Regions from separate parts of the Homo sapiens genome. Here region 2 is linked to region 1. Evidence: promoter capture Hi-C in human tissues and cell types (Jung and others, 2019). All regions are on one chromosome and are shown on one strand. Each heading gives the region's core, a stretch centred on a gene start or on the middle of the fragment in contact. The rest is flanking DNA. Distances are from core to core; before and after follow the strand shown. Region 1 holds the start of HEYL (hes related family bHLH transcription factor with YRPW motif like). Region 2 holds the start of PPIE (peptidylprolyl isomerase E).

Region 1 (6,207 bases), core at 367-2,866:
GACATCTCACATGAAACGTCCATCACGGGGCCCTTGACCTTCCCCTGCAAATCTGCTCCTCTTCCAATCTTTGCTATCTCAGCCAATTACACAGGGCAGCTATCTGGGAGGCTTCCTTGACTTCCGCCTTTCCAGGGAATGCATAACACATTGTGCAACTTCTCTGTTAGTTGAGGTTTCCACTGACTGGCATGTGCCCACAGAAGTGATGTGAGTGCTGAGGGCATTTGGAATGAGAGTCCATAGTTGTGGCTGGGGCGACCACCAGGGCTTCCTGGTACTGATTGCTCACGACAGTTGCGCCTACCAGTATATATTTGTAAGTCTGTCCGTGTGTATGTGTTTGCATACCTGGCCAAATGGTTGTGTCTGTGGATGTGTGTGGACGGGGGCACAGGAACATTCTTTCCCATCAAGTAATCAAGTGTCCCCCAGCAAGCAGGCCTTGCTGTGGGGATGGAAGCACAGTTATTCTCAGATGACCAACCCGATTCTCCCACTTGAAGGGGTGGCTTCCCTCAGGTCCTGACCTGGTGGCGGGTAAAAAGGAAAAGACCTCTCATATCTAACCCAGCACACCAAGACCTCCTCTATCTCCTCTTCCCTGCCCAAGAAGTCCAGCTCCAGGATGCTCTCATGCAGCTTCCTTTGGAGCCTTAGGAGCTTCTCTGAGGTACTGGGCGCCTGAGGATGACCGGTGAATCTGAGAACTTCCCACAAGTCCCCCTAAGGACAGGGCAGCTAGAGCCCTCCCTGAGTGAACAGTTTGATGGGTTGCCAGAAGCAGAGGCCCCAGGAAGAGAGGCTGGAAGGTATCTTCCCTTTTCCTCTCCTTCTCCCACTTTGAGGCCCTGCCATAGCGTCTAGAAGGAGCCCTTTCCTGGCCTCCTGGCCGCCCAGGACAACTCGACCTCTGGTGAACTGGGAACTGATTCCCAGGGACAACCCACCACTGCCACCACGCCAGGCCTTTAGGGACCTCGGCCAGAGCCCAGCTTTCTCAGATGCGGTGGCCACAACTTCAGCCGTCCCTTTTGGGGGTGACTGCCACCTCTCAGAAGTGTAAGTGTCTTCCCCTTGCCCCCACCACACTATTCCACTTGCTTTGGGCCCCTATGGAGTTGCTGCTGGGGAATTCTTGCTGAGGATCAGGCCACAACCACCACGACTAACTTCGACAAACTTGATGTGTCTGCTGCCTCCAGAACACCAGGAGGCAGGAGCGCGCAGGGTTGACCCTTGCGGAATCCCGGGCATCGAAGCGGCGCCTCTACAGGCCAGCAGCGCCCAGGCGACCCAGGGACAGACGGGGACTCCTGGCTTCCCCGCGGGGCCTCCCAGGGCACCTGCCCAAGGCCACCCAGCGCGCGGCAGCCGAGACAGCGGAGCAGAGCCGGACCTCCCAGCCGTCGATGAAGGCGGCGACCGCCTAGGGCCTTCCCACGGCTCGGCGGCGCGTCACCGCGGGGGCGAGGGGGCGCCTGGGCGCCCGGAGCTGCGGCGCAGGAAAGGGCCCTGGGAAAGGGCGGTGGCGGCGCCCCCGAGGCGGGGCCGGGGCGGGGCCGGGGCGGGGCCTGACTTCCCGACTGGGAGCCTTAGCCGCGGGGCTGAGACCAGGCAGCCTGCGTTCGCCATGAAGCGACCCAAGGAGCCGAGCGGCTCCGACGGGGAGTCCGACGGACCCATCGACGTGGGCCAAGAGGGCCAGCTGAGGTAAGGGCCGGGATGCGGGGACCGAGCAGGCGGAGGGCGAGCGGGGTGGGGGTCGGCCCGACGGGCTCGCCGAGCAGGCGGGCCAGCCCTCCAGCACCGCCTGGGCAGAGGCAGGTGAGCGCGGGGGCCACAGGTGTCGGCGTAGGGGGCGTGTGCGGGCCGTGCCGTTACACGCACGAGTGCCTGGATCCTGCGCGCTCTCGGTCGTGCAGGGCTGGGGATGCTGGCAGGGAGGGAGAGTTCAGCTCGGGGGATCAGGTGGCTAGTGGGTTATCATCTATCTGTTGAAGTGGCCTAGGGGAGGCCATTGGCAGGTTTTCCCTGGAGATCTTAGAAAACTCTCATAGACTGATGGTACTCTGGCCCCTGTCTGGAATCTGCTGACGATGCAGAGTAACCCCATCCTTTCCCAATTTTACCCTAGTTTGGATGCAGTTTTCATGTAGTCCACAAATTATTTCAGGAAGAAGAAAATTTGTCCTCCTTTGAGCAAATTGGAGTTTGGATTTAGGGACTTAGTATTGAAGAAAATAATAAGCGACTTGCAAGGGCCTAGACTCTAATTCCAATGTTCCTCCTATCGTGCCCCCATACTGCCAGTGTCTTTCAGCTCCTGGTAGATAGTCTGACCTGCTTCAAACCTGTCGAACAAACTGCGCTTGTATAGTTCTGCTACCTCGCAGTTCTGTAAACTGTCTAAGCTTCAGTTTCCTTATCTGTTAAATGAGCATGAATAATAGAACCAACTTCATGGAAATATTGGGAAAACCAAATGAGGCAAAGTATGTCAAGGGCTTAGCACAGCACATGCCTAGGTACACACCATGTGATTCCCAGCACCCTGAAAGAGCTGCAGGGCTGACTGGGAGTCTGCAGACCTGGGTCCCAGCCCCAAATCTGCCACCAACTCACTATGTGGTCTTGGGCCATTGGTTTCCCTGACAGAGTCTGTCATCAGTTTCCCCATCAGTAAAACAAAGACAGCAGTGGAAAAGAAAGGGATATACTTCATCTCTCTTGGCTCATCTAGACTTGACTCTCTAGAACAGAATTGGAGGGGAATTCAGTTAATTCTTTCTTTCTTTCTTTTTGACATGGTCTCACTCTGTTGCCCATGCTGGAGTGCAGTGGCATGATCATAGCTCATGGCAACCTTGATCTCCTGGGCTTAAGTGATCCTCCTGCCTTGGCCTCCCAAAGTGTTGGGATTACAGACATAAGCCAGTGAGCCAGGCCCAGTTAATTCTTAGGGATGTTTTTGAGGACATTTTGTAATTTTAGTGCTCTCCAGTTTTCTGAGATCCAAGGATCCTGCCTCAGTCTCAAATCCCAGGAAAATGCCATAATAGATATTCCTCTTGCAGCCTGTACATTTGTTTTTAGGGAGTATAACACAACTCGCTATGCAACGTATTAGCCTTTCTTAATTGTTTAGCAGAAACTGCTATTTAGAAAAGCAGTTATCTTAGCCTGTGCCTGTTAAGGGCCAGGAAAGGGCACAGCACCACGTGGTGGTGGTGGAGCGGGGTCTCAAATTCAATGGCATTGGGTCTTCATAGATCAGAGGCACAAAATTGATGCCAGAGAACTAGGTTGATCAGAGCTGGCTTCTGTCCTCCACAAGTTTGCAGCCCAGTCAGTGACCTGCCAGGTCATAAAAACACCATGGACAGGATGGAAAGGAGACAGACTGTGGGCTGTGAGGGCACTTAAGCAAAGAGAGGTCACTCTTAATCAAAGATGGCAAGGAGGGCTTCTTGAAGATAGTAGCATCTGGGCAACTGCTTACATGAGGCATAAAGGATCAGTGGGCAGTTTTTTCCTATACATACAGCATTTCCTATATATACAGAGCCCATTTTTAGACACTGTTCTTAGAGGAGCAGACCCCTCTGAGGAGAGAAAGCAGCTGGACATCTGGCAGAGGCTGACTTATAGATGCCCCTTTGTAGCACTCACCAAAGGGCCCTTCCCCCAGCAGACATCAATGCTTCAATTCAGGGAGCACTGAACGATGCCTGCTGTGGCCCAGACCCTGGGCTGGGCATAGGGGGCCCAGATGTATCCTGCTCAGCCTCTGCCCTCAGGGAACTCTCAGGGAAGAAGAGCTTCATGTACAAAGAAAGCAGATAAACACTGACAAAGGCCGCAGGACGGAGGCAGCCAGCCTCTCGGGGTCAGGGGCAGGGCGCAAAACCCCCACACTCAGAAACGTGAGAGTAAAGAGCAGGGTGTGTTCCACCATCACTGTGGCATCTGCCTGGTGGCAGTCCTGCCACATCTGTGAAACTCACCCACAGAGCTCTCATCTCAACCTGGCCCCATGACGCAGGATGAGTCCAAACTGAGAGTACAGCCTCTCCTCTCCCTCTGCAAACATCTAATGAGCACCTGCCACATGTCAGACACTGGATCAGGGTCCTGTTCCTGCACAATATAAGGTGGTGGTCTTGGAGTCAGATAGACCTGAGTTTGAATTTTACCACCATTAACTTTGGCCAGTGACTTTTACCCCTTTCTGAACCTCAGTTTTCTCGCGTTCAAAATGGGAATACATTAGCACTCCTGCCTCGCAGGATAAGGTTTGATGAAGTAACATACATAAAGTTACATAGCTCCCTGCTTTGGCACAAAGTAACTTCCAATAAACGTTGCTGTCAAAGCGGTCACCATTCAGTTGGGGGGCAACATATTTATGAGACAGCATGGTCTAATGAAAAGACCGGAAGTGTGAAGACTGGACTTACTGGAGTGATTCTTAACTCCAGTGTCTCTGTCACTCCACCTGTAAAATGATTATTTTTCCTAAATGTGAAATGGCCCAAAAAATACTTCACTTACAGTGCTATTGTGCAATAAATTAGACAAATGGATGTGGAAGTGCAGTATAGAACAAAAAGCACTGGCTCTGAGATCTACATGACGGGATGATGTATATATGGGGTGCACTGGCAAAAGCCCCAGATTAAAAGCCACTAGAGGCCGGGCACGGTGGCTCACGCCTGTAATCCCAGCACTTTGGGAGGCTGAGGTGGGTGGATCACGAGGTCAAGAGATCGAGACCATCCTGGCTAATATGGTGAAACCCCATCTCTACTAAAAATACAAAAAATTAGCTGGGCATGGTGACACGTGCCTGTAGTCCCAGTTACTTGGAAGGCTGAGACAGGAGAATCACTTGAACCTGGGAGGCGGAGGTTGCAGTGAGCTGAGATTGTGCCACTGCACTCCAGCCTGGGTGACAGAGTAAGACTCTGTCTCAAAAAAGAAAAGAAAAAAAAAAAAAAGCTACTAGAGTAGACCTGGCTGTAGTTCCGATTTTCCTCTAATTTGCTGTGTGGCCTGGGGAAGATCCCTTCCCCTCTGAGTTTCCTTATTTTACAAATGGACTCAGTTCTCTCTGAGATTCCTTCATTTGGGACATTGTGATTCTGCCTTTGGCTGACACAAAATGATTAGGGTCATCTGCAAGGGTTCCACGGGGGAGTTCCCAGGGGAAGTCAGCACTGAGGGTGGTCAGGACCACCTGGAAAGCTTCCCCCCATAAGAGACCGCCCCAGAATTCTGGCTAGGAGCCACTAGAGGCCTATGGAGCAGATCTTGATGGTCAACATATCTTCTCTGGGTCCATGAAAATCTGTGTCATTTTCAGATTCTCAGACAAGAGAATCCCACACCTCATCCCACTGTCAGGGCCAGATCGCGGGCTGGAAGGGAGCTCTGGCTGGGCTCTTGGGAACTTTAAAAATAAGGGGACCGGAGGGCTATTCAGACAGACAGGAAGTAGGAATTAGAAGGGAAAAAATGCTGAAGCGGAGCCAGAAGATGCGGATTCCCTGCTGGCTTTGCTCCTTAGCAGCTGGGTAGGCTGGGCAACCTGCTTTAGCTCCCTGAAGCTCAGCAACCTCATCTGTAATATGGGCTTTTGTAAGGCTCAAAGGAGGGAAAGACATATAATGTTGCCAAGAAAACTGTAATGTGAGGTTTGCCTCTGAGATATGGGAAGAGGAGAAGGGGGGAAATAATACGACAGGGACAAGCTGACCAGGAGATTGGAAAAAGGAATGGCAGCACTGCTTTGCCCTGAAATGGGTGCGTCAGCCTCCAACAGATGGTCCCAGCGGAGGGATCAGGCTGAGAGGCAGTGACGTGTGCAAGGCTAACCTAATACCCGGAAAGACGCTTTATCAAGCTGGGGGGAACAAAGGCCGTGTTTCTTAGTGTGTCTTGGCTCTTGGGGTTTGTCCCCAGTGAACCAGTGAGGCTTTGTAAACAAGCTGCCCCATAGATCTCAAGATCTGGCCTTACAAGCCCTGGACCTAGCTTGCTGGGTCCTCCCTCCCAGGAGCTATTATAGACCTCTTACCAGGTCGGCTTGTCCAGATGTTTGGGTGGGAGATATCCTTTTCCAGATGTGTCTGGACAAAGCCAGAGACATAGCAGTAGGATTTGACAAATGCTATCTGGTCTCTTCTGCAACCTTCTCTGAGCAGT
Region 2 (6,282 bases), core at 2,077-4,576, 100 kb before region 1:
ACCAGTAAGCTATGCAGCCACCCCAAAGCCACCTGTGGGTTTCAGGGAACTCACACCCCTTTCTTTCATAGCAGCACACAAAGACCTGTATTACCAAAAGTAACTCTGGGTTCAGAACACTCCAAAATTACAAAAATAAATGCAGTTTCCCAGTATTTGAGTTCACCTTCAAAAGTCAAGATAAGCTTTGAAATGAAAGAAAAATGATCTCTGACAGCTGATGAATATGTTTGGTGAATGGATAACAGAACAACAAATAAAACAACATCTCATTATCCAAAGATAATCGGTACCAGGAAAGGTCATTTAAGGTGACTCCACTTGAAGTGGTGATGAAGATTTCGTGGTAAAATTGAAAAATTTTAAAAGGCTGACTGGGAAATTACTGTGATGAAACTAAAAATAATAAAAACAAGTTTCTTACCATTAATATTCAGGACTAACTATGCACTAATCGGTAGAAAGAAATGTAACTTGGTAGAAAGAAATGTAACAGGTAGCCCAGGTAGCCCTGTTGGCTTGAGCCTGTAATTCCAGCTACTTGAGAAGCTGAGAAGTCTTGAACTCATGAGTTCAAGATTGTTAAAAAAAAAAAAAAAAAAAAAAAGAAAGAAAGAAAAGTAACAGGCACTGAAGTATTATTTTTCCAACAAAATTCTATCAACAGTATGGTATCTTTGCACTTCTTATCAGACATGAAAACTAAAAGGATCTCAAGGAAGGCACAAATACTAAAGAGCATCATCATTTTTCCCAAGGACCTTTCCAGAATATCCAAATCATTTGTATCAGTGATTTGCACCTGCCATAATTAAATTTCTCTTCTCAATTGTAAATTGGTCTAACACTTCATGAAATCCTGCTATTTTGCAAAATATGCAGTTACACCGTGCAATCAATTTGCACTGTGTCTGCAAATTATCCTAAACATGGGAGAGCCAGTGAGAGACTGGTCAACAAGGATGATGAGGACTTACATTATTCTGAAATGGCGAAGGAGTCTGAGTAAGAACTAATTTTATAAGTGATCAATTCACAGTGAATATTTTCATGTGAGAATTTTTACCTCCCCATGCAACCTTGTAACTTTGGAAGTCCAGAACACTGATATATGAATAAGGAGCCTCTGTACCACCAAAAAGCAACTTTAGTTAGAATTAAGATTCCCAGCCATACCATGTTGTCGATAGCTGCTGCAGCATCCTGCCAAGGAAAGACAAAGGTACAAGTTTAGGCTTGCAGCCAAATGCTTCTTATGGTGTCTAAACACATGCTCAGTAGCAAAAATCCAGAAAAATGCCACCTCTGTATTTCTTGCCTAGGTTTTGTGTGTTTCTAACAAAGAGCACTTCCTGGCTGATTTTAGAGCTGGTGGTGCAACAATTTGCCATCTAGTTGAAGGCACAAGAAATAATCACTACTTCCAGGCAAGAATGCTCAATGAACAGGGGTGCATGAGCTAGCTCCTCTGCAGGGCAAGAATGGGAGGGCCTGGCAGGTCTGACATGTTATTCACAGTCCAGTCTGATTATGTGAGAGACGCTTTCCTTAGAACAGCACTTACTTCTGATCTCTCTGGAAGCATCAGCCTAAGGCCCAAAAACCTAACCAAATGGTGAAAAGCTTCCTTTGTAATCAGTAACAACATCACAAACCAAGGACTAGACACTAGTAACACAGACTCTCACCTCTGCCAACTCAAATTCAACAAAAGCAAATCCTCGGTGCTTTTCTACAAAATGGAAAAACAAAAACAAGTAATTACTATGTGGGGTAGTGGGAAGAAACAGGATGGTCACAAAGTGAAGTCAGTTACATGTCGTATCCAAACACCAGAAGTTCTATCCAATCACTATTTAGGAAGAAGGAATCTCATTCTTGATTCTTCTTATACAATATTTTAAGCAATAATAAACTTTGTTTTTTTAATGGACATAGCTGAATAGTAAACTGTATTTTTAATTGATAAGTATTCAATTATTCTACGAAAGCCAAACTTAAAACCTTAACCATTGCATGCAAAGCAATTAGAAAAATAAAGTCATTTGACCTATCAATTATCTATCTAAATATATATTTTGCGCATCAACTGTGCATAAAGCATGAATCCTAAAACCTGATAAAGATGCTCAGTCTTTATCTTCAGGAAAATGCTGAACTAACTAGAAAGACCAAGCACAATAATGTTTATCATAGAACTCAGAGACTAGAAGGCCCTTAGAAAGCCAACATAACCTTATCATTTTGCAAATAAAGATTTCCCAGGCCCAGAGAGTTTAAAGACTTTGCTAACAATCATATGCAAGGTTGATGATAAAACTAGGCCTAAAACTATAATCTTAAAAATGACAACAAAGGTAAACAGAAAACTGAACTGTGGTTGTGATACCAATCGATGGGAAACCCACCCAGGGGTGCAGAGGCCAAGAACCCCCGCCCTCACCCACCCCCATTATGGGGCTAGGCTTTCCCGCTGCCTCATTTAATAGCACAGCTGCAAGAAGGTGCAGGTGGGATGGGGTACCCATCAGGTAGATTAAAACAACATTCAAATCTCAATGTAGTTCAAACCTATCTCCCTACTGGTCTATTGAAAAATCTGTCTTATCTCAACCCAACAGCTGAAGACTCTGGAAAGTATTCAGAGTTCACAACCACATGGCCTCAGAACATTCCTTCTCCATCGAGATCACTGTCACCAGACACCTTCCTGAACTTACCTGTAGTGTATACTAACCATATTTAGAATGCATATTTAGAATTGTGATGTGACTTTAATTTTTTAAGGTATTTTCCTAGTAAGAGGATTCTGAACGTGAGAGACACTAACTCACCTGTTTCATAATCCAGAGGAATCTGAATATCTGTGATGTCTCCAAAAGGAATGAACGCAGCATGAAGAACTTTGTCGTCCACTTCCTCTGCCAGTCCACCTGCAAATAAGCCAAGGGCCTTCTGAGCCACTGATCTCCATACTCTTGCAGAAGTCCTTGCAGCCCAGTTAGCATGCTAGCCAGGGGACAGGACCCTTCCATTCAGTTCTTTGGGTAAACAAACATCCCCCTCTCATCTCTGCCCACCCATACTTATGAAAAATATTCCTCTCTTCGCCCTTCTTTCAGACTCTCATCTAGTCCTGGGATTACTGCAATAGCTTCACAACTGACCTCCCTGCCTCCATTCCATCAACTCCACAAAGCCAACTAGAATGATCTTAGGAAAATGCAAATTTGAACCCGTAACTTTTCGCTTACACTCCTTCAAAGGCTTCCCACTGTCCTCAGGATAAAGTGCAAACTCCTTAGCAGTACCCACCTCTCCAGCTTTTTTGCTTTGCTTCCTAATTTCCTGGGTCTCCCGAATAATGACCCACTTGCCCCCAAGTGTCAGGCTATTTCACACCTTTGCGACTCCCTTGCAGTGAACGGCCTTGCCTCTGCTTCGGTTACGTAGCTAACTCCTGCTCATCAGCTCTGGCATCGCCGCATCCAGAATTTGCCCTCGCTTCTCCAGATGGATGGGTCATTTGTCCCGCAGCCAGGCCCATATTATCATGATCCATCCTCACTACAGCGCTTATCAAAAGTGTGCTACTGAGGTAATTCCACTTTTTTTCTGGCTAGTCTGGGAACTCCTTCCTTTATGGCAGGGGCTGGGGCTGAGCCGTCGCTGCACTGAATGTTTGTAAAACAAATGAACGAGAGGATCCGAAGGGCCATAATACTCCTTTACCGCTCCTCGGGGCCCGCTGGAGCTCAGCGGGCTAGGAAGTCAGAATAATCATTCCGTCTCGGGTTCACGCACCTGAGGTGTGTGGCAAGGCTGTTCACTGCAAGGGAGTCGCAAAAGCAGAGGCCCAAAGGTGTGAAATAACCTGAACCTTGGGGGCAAGTGGGTCATTTTTCGGGAGACCCAGCGAATCGGGAAGCAAAGCAAAGAAGCTGGAGAAGTGCGTACTGCTAAGAAGTCTGCACTTTTTCCTGAGGACAGTGGGAAACCTTGGAAGGAGTTTAAGCACAGCCAGAGCTATCGCCAGCACTACCGCCAGAGACCCGGCCTTGACAGCAGCTCGCCGTCCTCCTGGTTCAGAGATGCGTCCCACCCCACGCCCCGACCCTTGGGGGTCGCGTTCACTCAGACTCCGCCTAGCAACCCCTCCTGCTCACCCACGTACAAGACGCGCTTGGTGGTGGCCATCTTGCTCGCGCGCTTTTCCGCCGGAAGCCAGCACTCGACCCGTCCTCTTCCCCACTGTCCCGCCCCGCCCCCAACGCTTAGCTCTTAGACCCCGCCCACCCTCGCGTTGGTCCAACCGGCATCCCGCTACCCGGATGCACTGGGCGCCTTGTGAGGTGCGCAGTGGTAAACCAAGGGACGTGGTCCTCGCGCTTCCCAGTGCGCACCGTGTTGGGGGAGGGAAACCTTGGCCGAATCAACCCGATTATTATGGGCAAACGATAAACTCTGGTGCTTGGCCATCCTGCGCGTCTGTTTTTGGACAACCTGGGAGCTAAGAATGAATTTTACCTTTTGAAATAGTTGGAAAAAATAAAAAAACTATATTTTCTTGGCCGGGCGTGGTGGCTCATGCCTGTAGCCCCAGCACTTTGGGAGGCTGAGGCGGGCGGATCACCTGAGGTCAGGAGTTCGAGAGCAGCCTGGCCAACATGGTGAAACCCCGTCTCTACTAAAAATGCAAAAATTAGCCAGGCGTGGTAGCGGGCGCCTGTAATCGCAGCTACTCAGGAGGCTGAGGCTGGAGAATCGCTTGAACCCAGGTAGCGGAGGTTGCAGTGAGCAGAGATCGCGCCGTTGCACTCCAGCCAGGGTGACGAGAGCGACACACCATCTCACAAAATATATATGTATATTTTCTTAGCACATGAAAATTATGTGAAATTAAAATTTCAGTGTCCGTAAAGAAAGCTTTATGGGGACACAGCCACGCTCATTCCTTTAAGTATGACTGTGGCTGCTTTCCTACTACAAGGGCAGAAGAGCTATAGCCTGCAAAGCCTACAATAATATTTACAATCTGGCTCTTCAGAAAGAACGTTTGTCTACTCGTGTTAGGTTTTGAAAAGAAGGCAAGGGTTAAAGAAAGACACACACACACACACACACACACACAGAAAGAGGGCGGCTCGACAGCAAACGCAGGCTTTATGTCCAGCATAATAACCTACAGAAGTGGGGAACCAGCCTAATGCCAGTGCCCACCACTGCTTACAGACTGGGCAATTTATAGGTATGGGCGGTAGGGGTCTGGGCAGTATGGGTTGCTGCCTAGCAGGATATTGATATAAAGATGTTCTCATGATGAGGCGGTTTGGCCCTTGTTCCAGTGGGATGTCATCATGGTGTCCCTTGGACCTTTGCCCAGGAAGATATGAGAGGGATGTTTCTTTAGTTGGGCCTTTGTCTGCCTTGTGGTCGGGTGGTTAGGCAGGATGTTTCTCACAGCCCAAACCCCTGTGAAATGTTTCACTTTGACCAAGGTCTGCAGAATAGCAGGGAGCTTACAAAATGGTGCAGTTTAGAGTAACATCTTGGACTAAACCCACTAATATATAAATTACAGGTTGACATAGTGGTAGGAAATAATGGGACCATCTATTTTATATGGAGCAGGGGGTTAAGACCTTCCTGAGGTGACATTTAAGCTGAATTCTGAAGGAAAAGGAGCCAGAGAGAGGAGGAGGCAGCTTCCGCACACTCAAGGAACTAAAAGACCAGAGCCTGGGATGGTGGGGTGGAGGGCATATCAGGTGGGAAAGGTAGGCAGAGGGCCACATCATGAGGGTGCTGTAAGCCTTCTGGAAGATTTGGGAGCTTTGAGAAGCTGCTGAAGTTACAACAGGAGAGTTACATGCTCACATCATTTTAGACAGTGCTCTGACACTAGGCCCAGGATGGGTTGATTGGAACCCAGGAGACCAGGAAGTTAATGTAGTAGACTAAGGAAGAGTTGATAGTGGCTCTGTTCCTCCAATCCACTTGTCCAGGGTGATTTTTTTTTTCTTTTTTTCTTTGAGACAGGGTCTTGCTCTCTTACCCAGGCTGGAAGGCAGTGACATGATCATGGTTCACTGCAGCCTCAACCTCCCAGCCTCAAATGATCCTCCCACCTTAGCCTCCCGAGTAGCAGCTGGGAGTACAGGTGCACGTCACCATGCCCAGCTAATTTTTTTTTTTTTTTTTTTTTTTTAGAGACAGGGTCTTGCCATGTTGCCCAGGCTGGTCTCAAACTCCTGGACTCAAGCGATCCTCCTGCCTCGGCCT

Evidence for each region. The method cuts DNA at HindIII sites, captures the fragments that hold promoters and counts their contacts. A contact is called where the count stands out against the background at its distance.
Region 2: a contact is called between a fragment that was not itself captured here and the fragment with the promoter of HEYL in region 1, in 2 of the 25 tissues and cell types used here (H1 embryonic stem cells and psoas muscle).

The regions. Positions count from the first base shown.
Region 1 is chr1:39,635,052-39,641,258 of GRCh38, reverse strand. HEYL (hes related family bHLH transcription factor with YRPW motif like) reads left to right here and starts at 1,616. Exons shown (of 5, transcript NM_014571.4): 1 at 1,616-1,713. The coding sequence starts at 1,634. RefSeq lists silencers at 1,260-1,649, 1,770-1,839. The HindIII fragment of the contact is 11,489 bases long and covers 1-3,831 here.
Region 2 is chr1:39,736,816-39,743,097 of GRCh38, reverse strand. PPIE (peptidylprolyl isomerase E) reads right to left here and starts at 4,216. Exons shown (of 10, transcript NM_006112.4): 1 at 4,167-4,216; 2 at 2,835-2,933; 3 at 1,689-1,732; 4 at 1,177-1,203. The coding sequence starts at 4,197. RefSeq lists an enhancer at 3,959-4,168. The HindIII fragment of the contact is 4,843 bases long and covers 905-5,747 here.